Regions from separate parts of the Homo sapiens genome. Here region 1 is linked to region 2. Evidence: promoter capture Hi-C in human tissues and cell types (Jung and others, 2019). All regions are on one chromosome and are shown on one strand. Each heading gives the region's core, a stretch centred on a gene start or on the middle of the fragment in contact. The rest is flanking DNA. Distances are from core to core; before and after follow the strand shown.

The links. The method cuts DNA at HindIII sites, captures the fragments that hold promoters and counts their contacts. A contact is called where the count stands out against the background at its distance.
Region 1: a contact is called between a fragment that was not itself captured here and the fragment with the promoter of SLC8A2 in region 2, in 14 of the 25 tissues and cell types used here (IMR-90 fibroblasts, aorta, bladder and 11 more).

What each region holds. Positions count from the first base shown.
Region 1 is chr19:47,654,724-47,660,168 of GRCh38, reverse strand. All of the region lies in intron 1 of BICRA (BRD4 interacting chromatin remodeling complex associated protein), which reads right to left. Among named protein-coding and RNA genes, the nearest start is that of BICRA, 48 kb to the right of the region's middle. The HindIII fragment of the contact is 3,259 bases long and covers 429-3,687 here.
Region 2 is chr19:47,470,201-47,475,241 of GRCh38, reverse strand. SLC8A2 (solute carrier family 8 member A2) reads left to right here and starts at 3,349. Exons shown (of 10, transcript NM_015063.3): 1 at 3,349-3,453. KPTN (kaptin, actin binding protein) reads left to right here. Exons shown (of 12, transcript NM_007059.4): 12 at 1-92. The HindIII fragment of the contact is 16,110 bases long and covers 65-5,041 here.

The DNA of each region.
Region 1 (5,445 bases), core at 809-3,308, 190 kb before region 2:
GGAGCACAGCTCTGACAACCCCAGTGGCCCTGCTAACACCCTCATTTTGGACTTAGGGCCTCTGGAACTATACGAGAATAGTTTTCTGTTTTAAGATCCTGCATCTGTGGTATTTGTTACAGCGACAATGGGAAACTAATGTACATGTAAGTTTCTAAGACAGAGACGCATACAATACGTACAGAGTATAGAAGATATATATGTAGCCTGGGCAACACAGTGAGACCCCATCTCTACAAAAAATTTTACAAATTAGCCAGGTATGCTAGTGTGCACCTGTGGTCCCAGCTACTTGGGAAGCTGAGGTGTGAGGATTGCTTGAGCCTGGGAGGCTAAGGCTGTGGTGAGCCAAGATCATGCCACTGCACCACAGCCTGGGTGACAGAGGGAGACCCTGTCTCAAAAAAGAAAAAGAAAGAGAGAAGAGAAGAGAACGTGTGTGTGTGTGTGTGTGTGTGTGTGTGTGTGTGTGTGTGTGTGTGTATGCACCACCATGTACAGCTGCACAGGTTGTTCACTGCACAAAGGAATCCAGACAAAGGGGCAAGTGGGGCATCAAATCCAGTCCAGGTTCTGCTCACACCTATGAGCCCCAGAGAAGGGTGGCATCCACATGGAGAAAGGAGTCCCCTTTCCCAATTCATACAAAGGACACACCACAGAGTCATGCCCTCTCGGACAAAGCACCATTTTCAATTGCATGAAAAAGCCCCGTAAGAGCTGGCTGGGCCCTGGATATGTAGCCGCTTGCATGATGTGTCTATTTTAAAGCTAGAAAAGGAAAACAGGGAAAAAAATGTTGATTCTTCACCCACCTCCACCCCTGTTGGGAAAGACAGAGAAAGAGCAATTTGAAGAGCAATTAAAATCTACACCATCTTTATTTTTAGTGACCTTTAGATCTCTAAAATCATTGAATTAGTTTAACCAAATAAAGTGGGCCCCATAAAGCTTAGATTGCTCATAAAGCGACTGATGTCTGGCTCTTAAAAGCCTATTTTATACAGGTAGTTACAAACTAGAAATGTTTTATGCATCTTCTCTTTTCCCTTTTCACCATTCGACGCTGTTCTAAATACAGCTATAAAGCTGCAGTCTTGCCAAGAAAACCAGGTATCTCAAAAGGGTTTGGATTTTTCTCAATGCTGGCTTATGAGAAACAGGAAAAACCCTGGGAGAGGGTAAAGTACAGGCATTCGGGGTGGGTGGCGGAAATACAAAAGAAATGATTATGTTCACCGGACACAGGGACTCACACGTCATCAGGCAACGAAGCAGGCTTCGAATTCAGGGGAAAAAAATGCAGCTAAGGGAAGCAAAGGGGAAAACAAACGTTCCCCAAGACGTGCGCACGGGTTTGTAGACCACTGGTTCCTAATACAGATTTGAGAATCTGGGAATCGGCAGGTCCCGGTGCGGCCTGAGACTCTGCATTTCTAATGAGTTCCCAGGTGATGCTGATGCTGCTGGCACAGACCACACTCTGCGAACCACTGTTCTAGAAGCTGCTGCTGCTTTTTTTTTTTTTTTTTTTTTTGAGACGAAGTCTCATTCTGTCACCCAGGCTGGAGCGCAGTGGCATGATTTCAGCTCACTGCAAACTCTGCCTCCCCGGTTCAAGCAATCCTCCCGCCTTAGCCTCAGGAGTAACTGGGATTATAGGCACTCGCCACCACGCCTGGCGAACTCCTGACCTCAAGTCATCTGCCCACCTCAGCCTCCCAAAGTGTTGGGATTACAGGCATGAGCCACCATGCCCGGCCTAGAAGCTTCTGTCTCTTTAGTTTTCCTTCTGGGGTTCTTGTTCTTGTATCAAACACAAGCCACCAGTTCCTGGTCAAGGTCCAGGCCCCTGACCAAGTGGTCCCACCGAGTCTTCTCTGAGGCTCAGGAAGGCTAATTTAGAAGTTGCCCAGGGTCTGACAAACACTTCCAGCCCCAACATCCTGGTCAACAGAGGACAGACCATAGTGAGTGCAGACCCCTGCTCCTTGGCCAGAAACTTTCTTCCTCAGACTCCCTTGCAGCTCAGAATGGATATGGGAAAGTTTTCACATTTGGCTAAAGAGGCAGAATCTTGTCTTGGGAAGACTGTTTGCTCCCTCTCCTTTTTGCTTGAAAGACTGCTATGAATATAATGACAATGACTGGTGCCGCAGCAGCCATTATGCATTCCTGAGGGGAAGGTCAAGAGAATCAGAGGTTCCCTAGCAAAACAGACTCAGGGAAAAAAAAAACGAGAGAGAGAGAGTATAAGAGGGACACTGACCTACTGGCCTGACAATCCTCAGCTGCCAAACATCCCTGGAATGGCCTTCTCCTAGACATCTTGTCCCAGAAGAGAATTAAAGCCTGGATTAAGTAAAGTTAAATATATACCAACTCTATGACCCAACAATGTCACGCCAAGGTATTTACTCAAGGGAGGTGAAAAGTATGTCCACAAAAGCACCTGTACAAAAATTTTCACAGCAGCCGGGCATGGTGGCTCATGCCTGTAATCCCAGCACTTTGGGAGGCCGAGGTGGGCGGATCACAAGGTCAGGAGATCGAGACCATCCTGGCTAACACAGTGAAACTCCGTCTTTACTAAAAATACAAAATATTAGCCGGGAGTGGTGGTGGGTACCTGTAGTCCCAGCTACTTGGGAGGCTGAGGCAGGAGAATGCCATGAACCTGTGAGGCGGAGCTTGCAGTGAGCCGAAATCATGCCACTGCACTCCAGCCTGGGCGACAGAGCAAGACTCCGTCTCAAAAAAAAAAAAAAATTTCACAGCAGCCTTATTCATAAAAGCCCCTAACTGTAAATGGCACAGAAAGCCATCAACAGGTAAATGAATACACTGTTACATCCACACGACAGAATACAGTTTGGCAGTAAAAGGGAATGAAGGACTTCTACAGCAACAATACAAATGGGTCTTAAATGGATCATGCTGAGCAAAGGAAGCCTGGCACAAAAGTCTACACACTGTGTGAGTCCATTTGTGTAAAGATCTAGAACATGGGCCCGGCGCAGTGGCTCACGCCTGTAATCCCAGCACTTTGGGAGGCCAAGGCAGGCAGATCACTAGGTTGGGAGATCGAGACCATCCTGGCTAACACAGTGAAACCCTGTCTCTACTAAAAATACAAAAAATTAGCTGGGCGTGGTGGTGGGCACCTGTAGTCCCAGCTACTCGGGAGGCTGAGGCAGGAGAATTTCTTGAACCCGGGAGGTGGAGGTTGCAGTGAGCCGAGATCGCCACACTGCACTCCAGCCTGGGCGACAGAGCAAGACTCCATCTTAAAAAAAAAACCAAACAAATCTACAATATCCAGAACTGATTTATAGTGGGGGAAAAATATCAGACGTGTGGCCGCTTCAAGGGAGGGATGCAGGAATGACTGGGAAAGGCTATAAGGGAGCCTGCTCAGATGATGGACGTGTTCTCTAGCTAGAGCTGAGTGATGCTTACACAGGTAATATTTGTCAGAAAACATCAAGCTGCGCGCTTCAGTTTTGTGCATTTTACTGCACATAAATTAGAACCCAGTAAAGCACCCCTAGCATGTAGAAAAAAAACCCCTGTGCAATTGATCGTTATTCCAGGTGGCTGTGTTCTATATATTACAGAATCTAAAAAGTGACTGTGAACATTGGATTAGCAAATACTTAGACATTAACCATGTCTCCTGGGGGAAATACAAAGTTAGGTTCCTGAAAGCCTCTGGCCACAATGCTTTCACCAACCAATATAAAACCTTGGCTTATGTGTGTTTCTGTTCGAAGACACCTTATTTAATGTATAGTTTTGATTCATTAACACTGAGCCTCACGTCAGCAGCACCCTAACTTGTGCCTGAATGCAGTTTCTCTAATACGTGTATTTTCTCTGAAAGGCACGTCACAGCCTTCTCGTTGTTTTTTTGAGACAGGGTCTCACTGTTGCCCAGGCTGGGGTGCAGTGGTGTGAAAAGAACTCATGGCAGCCTTGACCTTCCAGGCTCATGTGGTCCTCCTTAGGTGTGCGCCATCACGCTTGGCTAATTCTAAAATTTACTTATTTATTCAGAGTGTGTGTGTGTGTGTGTGTGTGTGTGTGTGTGTGTGTGTGTCGAGACAGGATCTCACCATGTTCCCCAGGCTGGTCTCGACCTCCTGGGTTCAAGCGATTCTCCCACCTTGGCCTCCCAAAGTGCTGGGGTTACAGGCGTGAGCTACCATGCCCAGCCTCACATTATAGCTTTCTTGAGCTTAGAAACATTAGACGGCACTTCAGCACTAAACTGGGGACGTTTTTATTTTTATTTTTATTTTTATTTTTTTTTTGAGATGGAGTCTCGCTCTGTCACCCAGACTGGAGTGCAGTGCAGCGATCTCGGCTCACTGCAACCTCCACCTCCCAGGTTCAAGGGATTCTCCTGCCTCAGCCTCCCGAGTAGCTGGGATTACAGGTGCCCGCCACCAAGCCCAGCTCATTTTTTTTGTATTTTTAGTAGAGATGGGGTTTCACCGTGTTGGCCAGGCTGGTCTCGAACTCCTGACCTCAGGTGATTCACCCGCCTCAGCCTCCCAAAGTGCTGGGATTACAGGCATGAGCCACTGCACCTGTCCTAAACCGGGGACATTTTACTAATTTTTTTTTTTTTTTTTTTTTTTGAGACAGAGTTTTGCTCTTGTTGCCCAGGCTGGAGTACAGTGGTGTGATCTTTGCTCACTGCAACCTCCACCTCCCAGGTTCAAGCGAATCTCCTGCCTCCACCTCCCAAGTATCTGGAACTAAAGGCATGCACCACCACGCCCGGCTAATTTTGTATTTTTAGTAGACCCAGGGTTTCACCATGTTGGCCAGGCTGGTCTCGAACTCCTGATCTCAGGTGATCCACCTGCTTCGGCCTCCCAAAGTGCTGGGATTACAGGTGAGAGCCACCACGCCTGGCCAAACTGGGGACATTTTAAACAGCAAAATCACAAAGCACAAAAATATAGAAAACATGGCACTAACTAGACCACAAAAAGGACACTTGTTTATAGTAAGAGAATAAGAAAGCAGGGTGTGGCGTTGCTTGACTGCAGCTGGAGATGTGTGCACCAGGTGACTCAAATTTTTTGCTATTCTGTGAGTGTCCATAAATGATGGGAAAAGCATTGTGCGTTATTGATTTTGGGGTTATGAGTAAGCGTTGGCGATTAGATGAAATCTGCAAATATGATATCTTGGAATAATGAGGACCCCCTGCACATGACAATACCCACTAAGATCAAGACGCATTCACCCTCTGCCTGGCTACTTCACTTATGGGAACATATCCTGCAGGTACCATTGACACGACCAAAATTATACAGTTAGGGGCTTTTACAGGTGTGTTGTTTTGTGATTTTTTTTTTTTTTTTCATAGAGATGGAGTCTTGCTATGTTGCCCAGGCTGGTCTTGAATTCCTGGGCTCAAGTAATCTTCCC
Region 2 (5,041 bases), core at 2,100-4,599:
TATTTGAAAGCAGGGATGATCCCATTCCACCCTGTCCACTCTGGATGAGAATTGGCCACCTGATGGTTATTTATACGTCCAGAAGAACATCATTTCCCAGTTGTCTCGATTCTTTTTTTCGGCAAGCATTTGGTGAGCACCTGCTGTATGCCTGGCTCTGTGTTGGATGCTGGATTCACCCAGAGGAATTGAGGGAGAGGGATTTGGGGGAGAGGGAATCCAAGGCTAGACCCAGATACAGGCCGGAGGTTAGATCCCAGGGTAGAACCCAAGAGAAAGAAATGGGGTGACACCTTAGCAGAAAGGCTAAAAGTTAAACCACTGTGGAACAGATTACGTAAAATGGAAGGGAAAGAGCTGAGGTTAGACCCTAGTGGAGAGAGCTGACATGAGACCCCAGTGGAAAGATCTAGATCTAAGGGTAGATCCCAGTGGAAAGGTAAGGAGCTTGAGCGTTTAGAGGAAAACTTGTGGGTAGAAAGGGCTGCTGTGGGAAAGCAGTGGTCCATTTGTAGCAGAGGGTCTGAGGCTAGACTCCCTATGAATAATGCTGAGGTTGGACCCCAACAAAAAATTGCTATGGCCAGATCCTGTGCAAGGGGCCAGGGTTAAACCCCAGCAGAAAGTGAGCTTAGTTCCCAGTGGAGAGCACTGAGGCAAGACCCAGGGAGAAGACCCAGGCTAGACCATGCTGGAAAGGGCTAAGCTTAGACCTAATCTAAAAAGCCTAGGGGGTTGGGGGCCCAGGGAGTGGGAGACAAGCCTGATTCTCCCAGCCTGTGGTGGTAGGAGTTGCCTTGCCTGTGGTCTTTTGTGTGTGTGTGAGAGACGGAGTCTCATTCTGATGCACTGGTTGGAGTGCAGTGGCGCGATCTCGGCTCACTGCAACCTCCACCTCCTGGTTCAAGCGATTCTCCTGCCTCGGCCTCCTGAGTAGCTGGGATTACAAGCGTACGCCACCACGCCTGGCTAATTTTTTTGTATTTTTAGTAGAGACAGGGTTTCACCGTGTTGGCCAGGCTGGTCTCAAACTCCTGACCTCAGGTGATCTGCCCGCCTCGGCCTCCCAAAGTGCTGGGATGACAGGCGTGAGTCACTGAGCCCGGCCTCCTGTGCTCCGTTCTGTATTACCAGGAGAAGGAATCAGAGGCCTGTGTCTCTAGGATCAGTGGAGGGTGGGAACGATGGAAGTCTTGTCCTCCGTCCACTGCAGGCCAGGAATAGAATCTGGGTCAGCAGGGTTGGGGGATGATCATTCCCTGGGCCGTATCCAGGCTGGGGGCAGGGGTTGGGCAGGACATCTGCTTCCTGGGGGTTCAGGGGAGAGGCAGACACCGTAGTCATTTTGGCCATCTGTCTACCTCCCGCTATGGAGGTCCACTCAGAAGTCTGACCACCAGCACTGACAGGGAAGACCCAGCCACCAGTTCTCTACCGAGCGTTTATGGGAGTTAGGAGCTCAGCAACTCCTGGCCACCCCTGTCTTCACCCTCTTTCCCAGAAGCCAGGCCCAGGCGTGGGAAGTTGGAGGAAGCCGGATCCTCTCCCTCCCCTGGCCAGCAGGCCTGACGGTGTCCAGCCAGGACTGGCAGTGGGCAGGACCGGTGGCACGAGCAAGGCCCCCTCCCTCCCACTGTCCGCCTCTAGAGAAGGAGCACTCCACACCGACTAACACGCCATCACCCCCTGTTGTGGGGGGGAGCAGGATTGGGGGTGGGTGTAGTGCTGGTGTGCCTTGCAGAGGTGTGTGCTTGCGTGGGGGTATGTGTGTGGGCCCATCGCAGGGTGCATGAGTTTGTGTCTTCAGGAGCCCAGGCCACCTGCCTGGCCCTTTGCAGTTCATTTCTTTCTTTTTTTTTTTTTTTTTTGGAGATGGAGTCTCACTCTGTCACCCAGGCTAGAGTGCGGTGGCATGATCTCAGCTCACTGCAGCCTCCACCTCCCAGGTTCAAGCGATTTCTCCTGCCTCAGCCTCCCAAGTAGCTGGGATTACAGGCGTGTGCCACCTGGCCTGGCTAATTTTTGTATTTTTAGAAGAGACAGGGTTTCGCCATGTTGGCCAGGCTGGTCTCCAACTCCTGACGTCAAGTGATCTGCTCGCCTCAGCCTCCTAAAGTGCTGGGATTACAGGCGTGAGCCACCGCACCCAGCCTGCAAGTCTCTTCTTGACCTGACCCGTCCTCAGCCTGGGGAATTGTGCGGTGCAGCAGTTAAGGGTGTAGAATCTGGAGCCATATTTACCACCTCATGCCTTGGTTTCCCTGTCTGTAAGTGAAGCTCATAATAGCATTTACCTAAATTTATAAAAAACATTAGAACATGCCAGGTGCGGTGGCTCTCACCTGTGCGGTGGCTCTCACCTGTAATCTCAGCGCTTTGGGAGGCCGAGGCAGAAGGATTGCTTAAGCCCGGGAGTTGGAGACTAGCCTAGGTAAAATAGTGAGACCCCGTCTCTTAAAAAAAATGAAGAGAAAAAAAGCCTGGCGTGGTGGTGGTGGGCACCTGTAGTCCCAGCTACTCGGGAGGCCAAGGCAGAAGGATCGCTTGAGCCCAGGAGTTGGAGACCAGCCTGGGTAACATGGTGAGATCCCATCTCCTAAAAAAAAAAAATGGAGGGAAAAAGCCTGGCGTGGTGGTGGCGGGCACCTGTAGTCCCAGCTACTCAGGAGGCTGAGGCAGGAGGATTGCTTGAGCCCAGGAGGTTGAGGCTGCAGTAAGCCAAGATCGTGCCACTGCACTCCAGCCTGGGTGACAGAGTGAGACCCTGTCTCAAATAATAATAATGTGCTGCCGATGCCAGGCACGTGGTCAGGGCTGCCTGTATGTATGGCAGCTGTTGTTATTCTTATTAATGGGTGTCTTTGTGGTTGTTTCTGGCCTCCTTTGTGAGGCTGTGCAGGCACAGTATGTGAATTTGGATCTGACTCCAGCTAAACATTCTTGCCCTCCCCCTAGTTCTGTAAGTCTGTAACTATTTGTAGCTGTTGGCCCTTGTATGGCTGGGAGACTGCGTGCGTGTGTGTGTGTGCGTGTGTGTGTGTGTGTGTTGGGGGGCGGGGGCTGCTTCTGAAACACACAGGAGCGCCCTCCGGTGCTGTCCCCTGCCTCTGGTGCTGAACCCGGAGGCTGGGGAGGAGGCTCGGGCTCCCTGCTCCCCCAGGCCCCTCCCCGGGCCTCCCCCCGCCTCCCGCACCGCCTTCCCTCTGCCCGCCTCCGCCTCCTCCCCCTCTCTCCGGCTCCTCCCCCTCCCTCGCTCCCTCGCCGCCTCCCCCTCCCCCGTGTCCCTCCCCTCTCCTCTTCTCCTCCCTCTATCCCCTCTCCCTCCCCTCCTCCCCGGCTCTCCCTCTCAGTCTCAGGCTTTTCTCTCTCTCAATCTCTCTCTCTCTTTCGGGCGGAGTCGCCCACCACTGCCAGCCCAGCGCTGGGGGGACCTGCTCCAGGCTGTAGCCGCAGGTAAGAGACCCCATTGGTGGGGAGGTGGGGGCGTGGGAAAAGGACGGGGTTACCCCAGGTGCGGAGTGGGGGCGGTTCGGGAAGCCTGGAGCTGGCTTCCCTGGGCTGGTTTATGGAGGTGGGGGGCTGCCTGGCCCAGCACGCGTACCTTCTGTGGGGTGGGAGTGCCACCAGCCGCCCCAACACCTTCAGTCCCTCCTGGTTCTCGGGCGGCTGGGGAGGGGGACCGCCTGGGTACTGGGGGGCGAGGACACCCCGCCCCCACCCCGTCTGGGGCACCCCCCCTCGCGCTCTCTACCTCTGCCCCCGCCTTCCTGTGTCTGGGTCTCATCTTTCTGTCTCTCCACATGTCTCAGGGGTCTCTGTCTAGCAGAGTCTGGCCGCCTCTGGGAGTCCCTGTCTCTCAGTCTCTCACTCCTGTCTCCCTCTCTCTGTGTCTCTGTGCCGGGGTCTGTTCGGAGTCTCTCTGGGGCTCTGTCTCTAAGTCCTGGGTTTCTCTCTCCTTTCCTCTTGCGCCATCTCTGTTTCTCTGTGTCTCTGTGTCTCTGCCTCTCTCCCTTGTCTCAGCTTTCCTGTGTCTCTCTCTGTCTCTGCTTTCTCTGTGTCTCTGTCTCTTCCCATGTCCGCATGTCTCTCTCTCTCTCTCTCTCTCTCCCTCCCTCCCCATCTCCCCCTCGTCTCCATCTCTGTCTCTGGATATCTCAGTCTCTGTTTCTCTCTCTCTTTCCTCTTCTCTGGCTCTCCCTGGGAGCCAGTGCACCCTCCTCCCACACACCTTTGTCTCCGCCCCTGGCAGGGGGGACCTGGAGGAATTAGACCCCCCCACCCGCAGAGTGGGCTCCCCCAGGCCTGGAGTCCTCTAAACTCCTCTCCCCACTTCAGCAGAGCTCCCCTGCTCTCTCCACTCCTCCCAGCCGGCACCCACCCCAGCTCTCCCCTGAGGACCGAGCCCACCTCCCCCTGCCTTGTTTCTGGCGTTCTGAGGCCGGTCCTTCTTGCAGTTTAACCGGTAGCCTCTGTAGTAGAGATGAGACCAGACCTCCCTTCAATCTAACCTCCCCAGTCTTCCTCGTGTAACTGGACCAGTCCTTCCTGCCGTCTCACTTCCATACCTCTTGCTGTTTGTCCAGCTCTTGATTCATTCATTCTTGTTGATAATTACTGAGCGCCTTTCCTGCTCTGGGCAAGCACTAGGTACTGAGTTAGACCGGGCCAGTCCTTCCTGCAGTCTCACTTCCATCCCTTTCCTGGTGTGCCAGCCTCACACTGTCTCAGTGGGGGGTGCTGAGAGGGCCCTGGCCAACACACTGTCTGCCTTCCTTGAGAGAAGGGGGCCCTGGAGAAGGTGGGCAAGAGAGTGAGTGATGGCGAAAAGGTACGAGGCTGTGCCTGTAGCCCTGGTGTGTGTGTGTGTGTGTGTGTGTGTGTGTGTGTGTGTGTATGATGTCTCCCTGGCTGCAGGTGAGGTCCCAGCCCTGTGTGACAGTGCCCACGGAGGGGGCTTCAGATGGCTTTAAAGAGCACTAGGTTAAGAGCCCTGTTCCTCCTCTGGGCCTCAGTTTACGTATTATCAGTGTATCACAGCCTC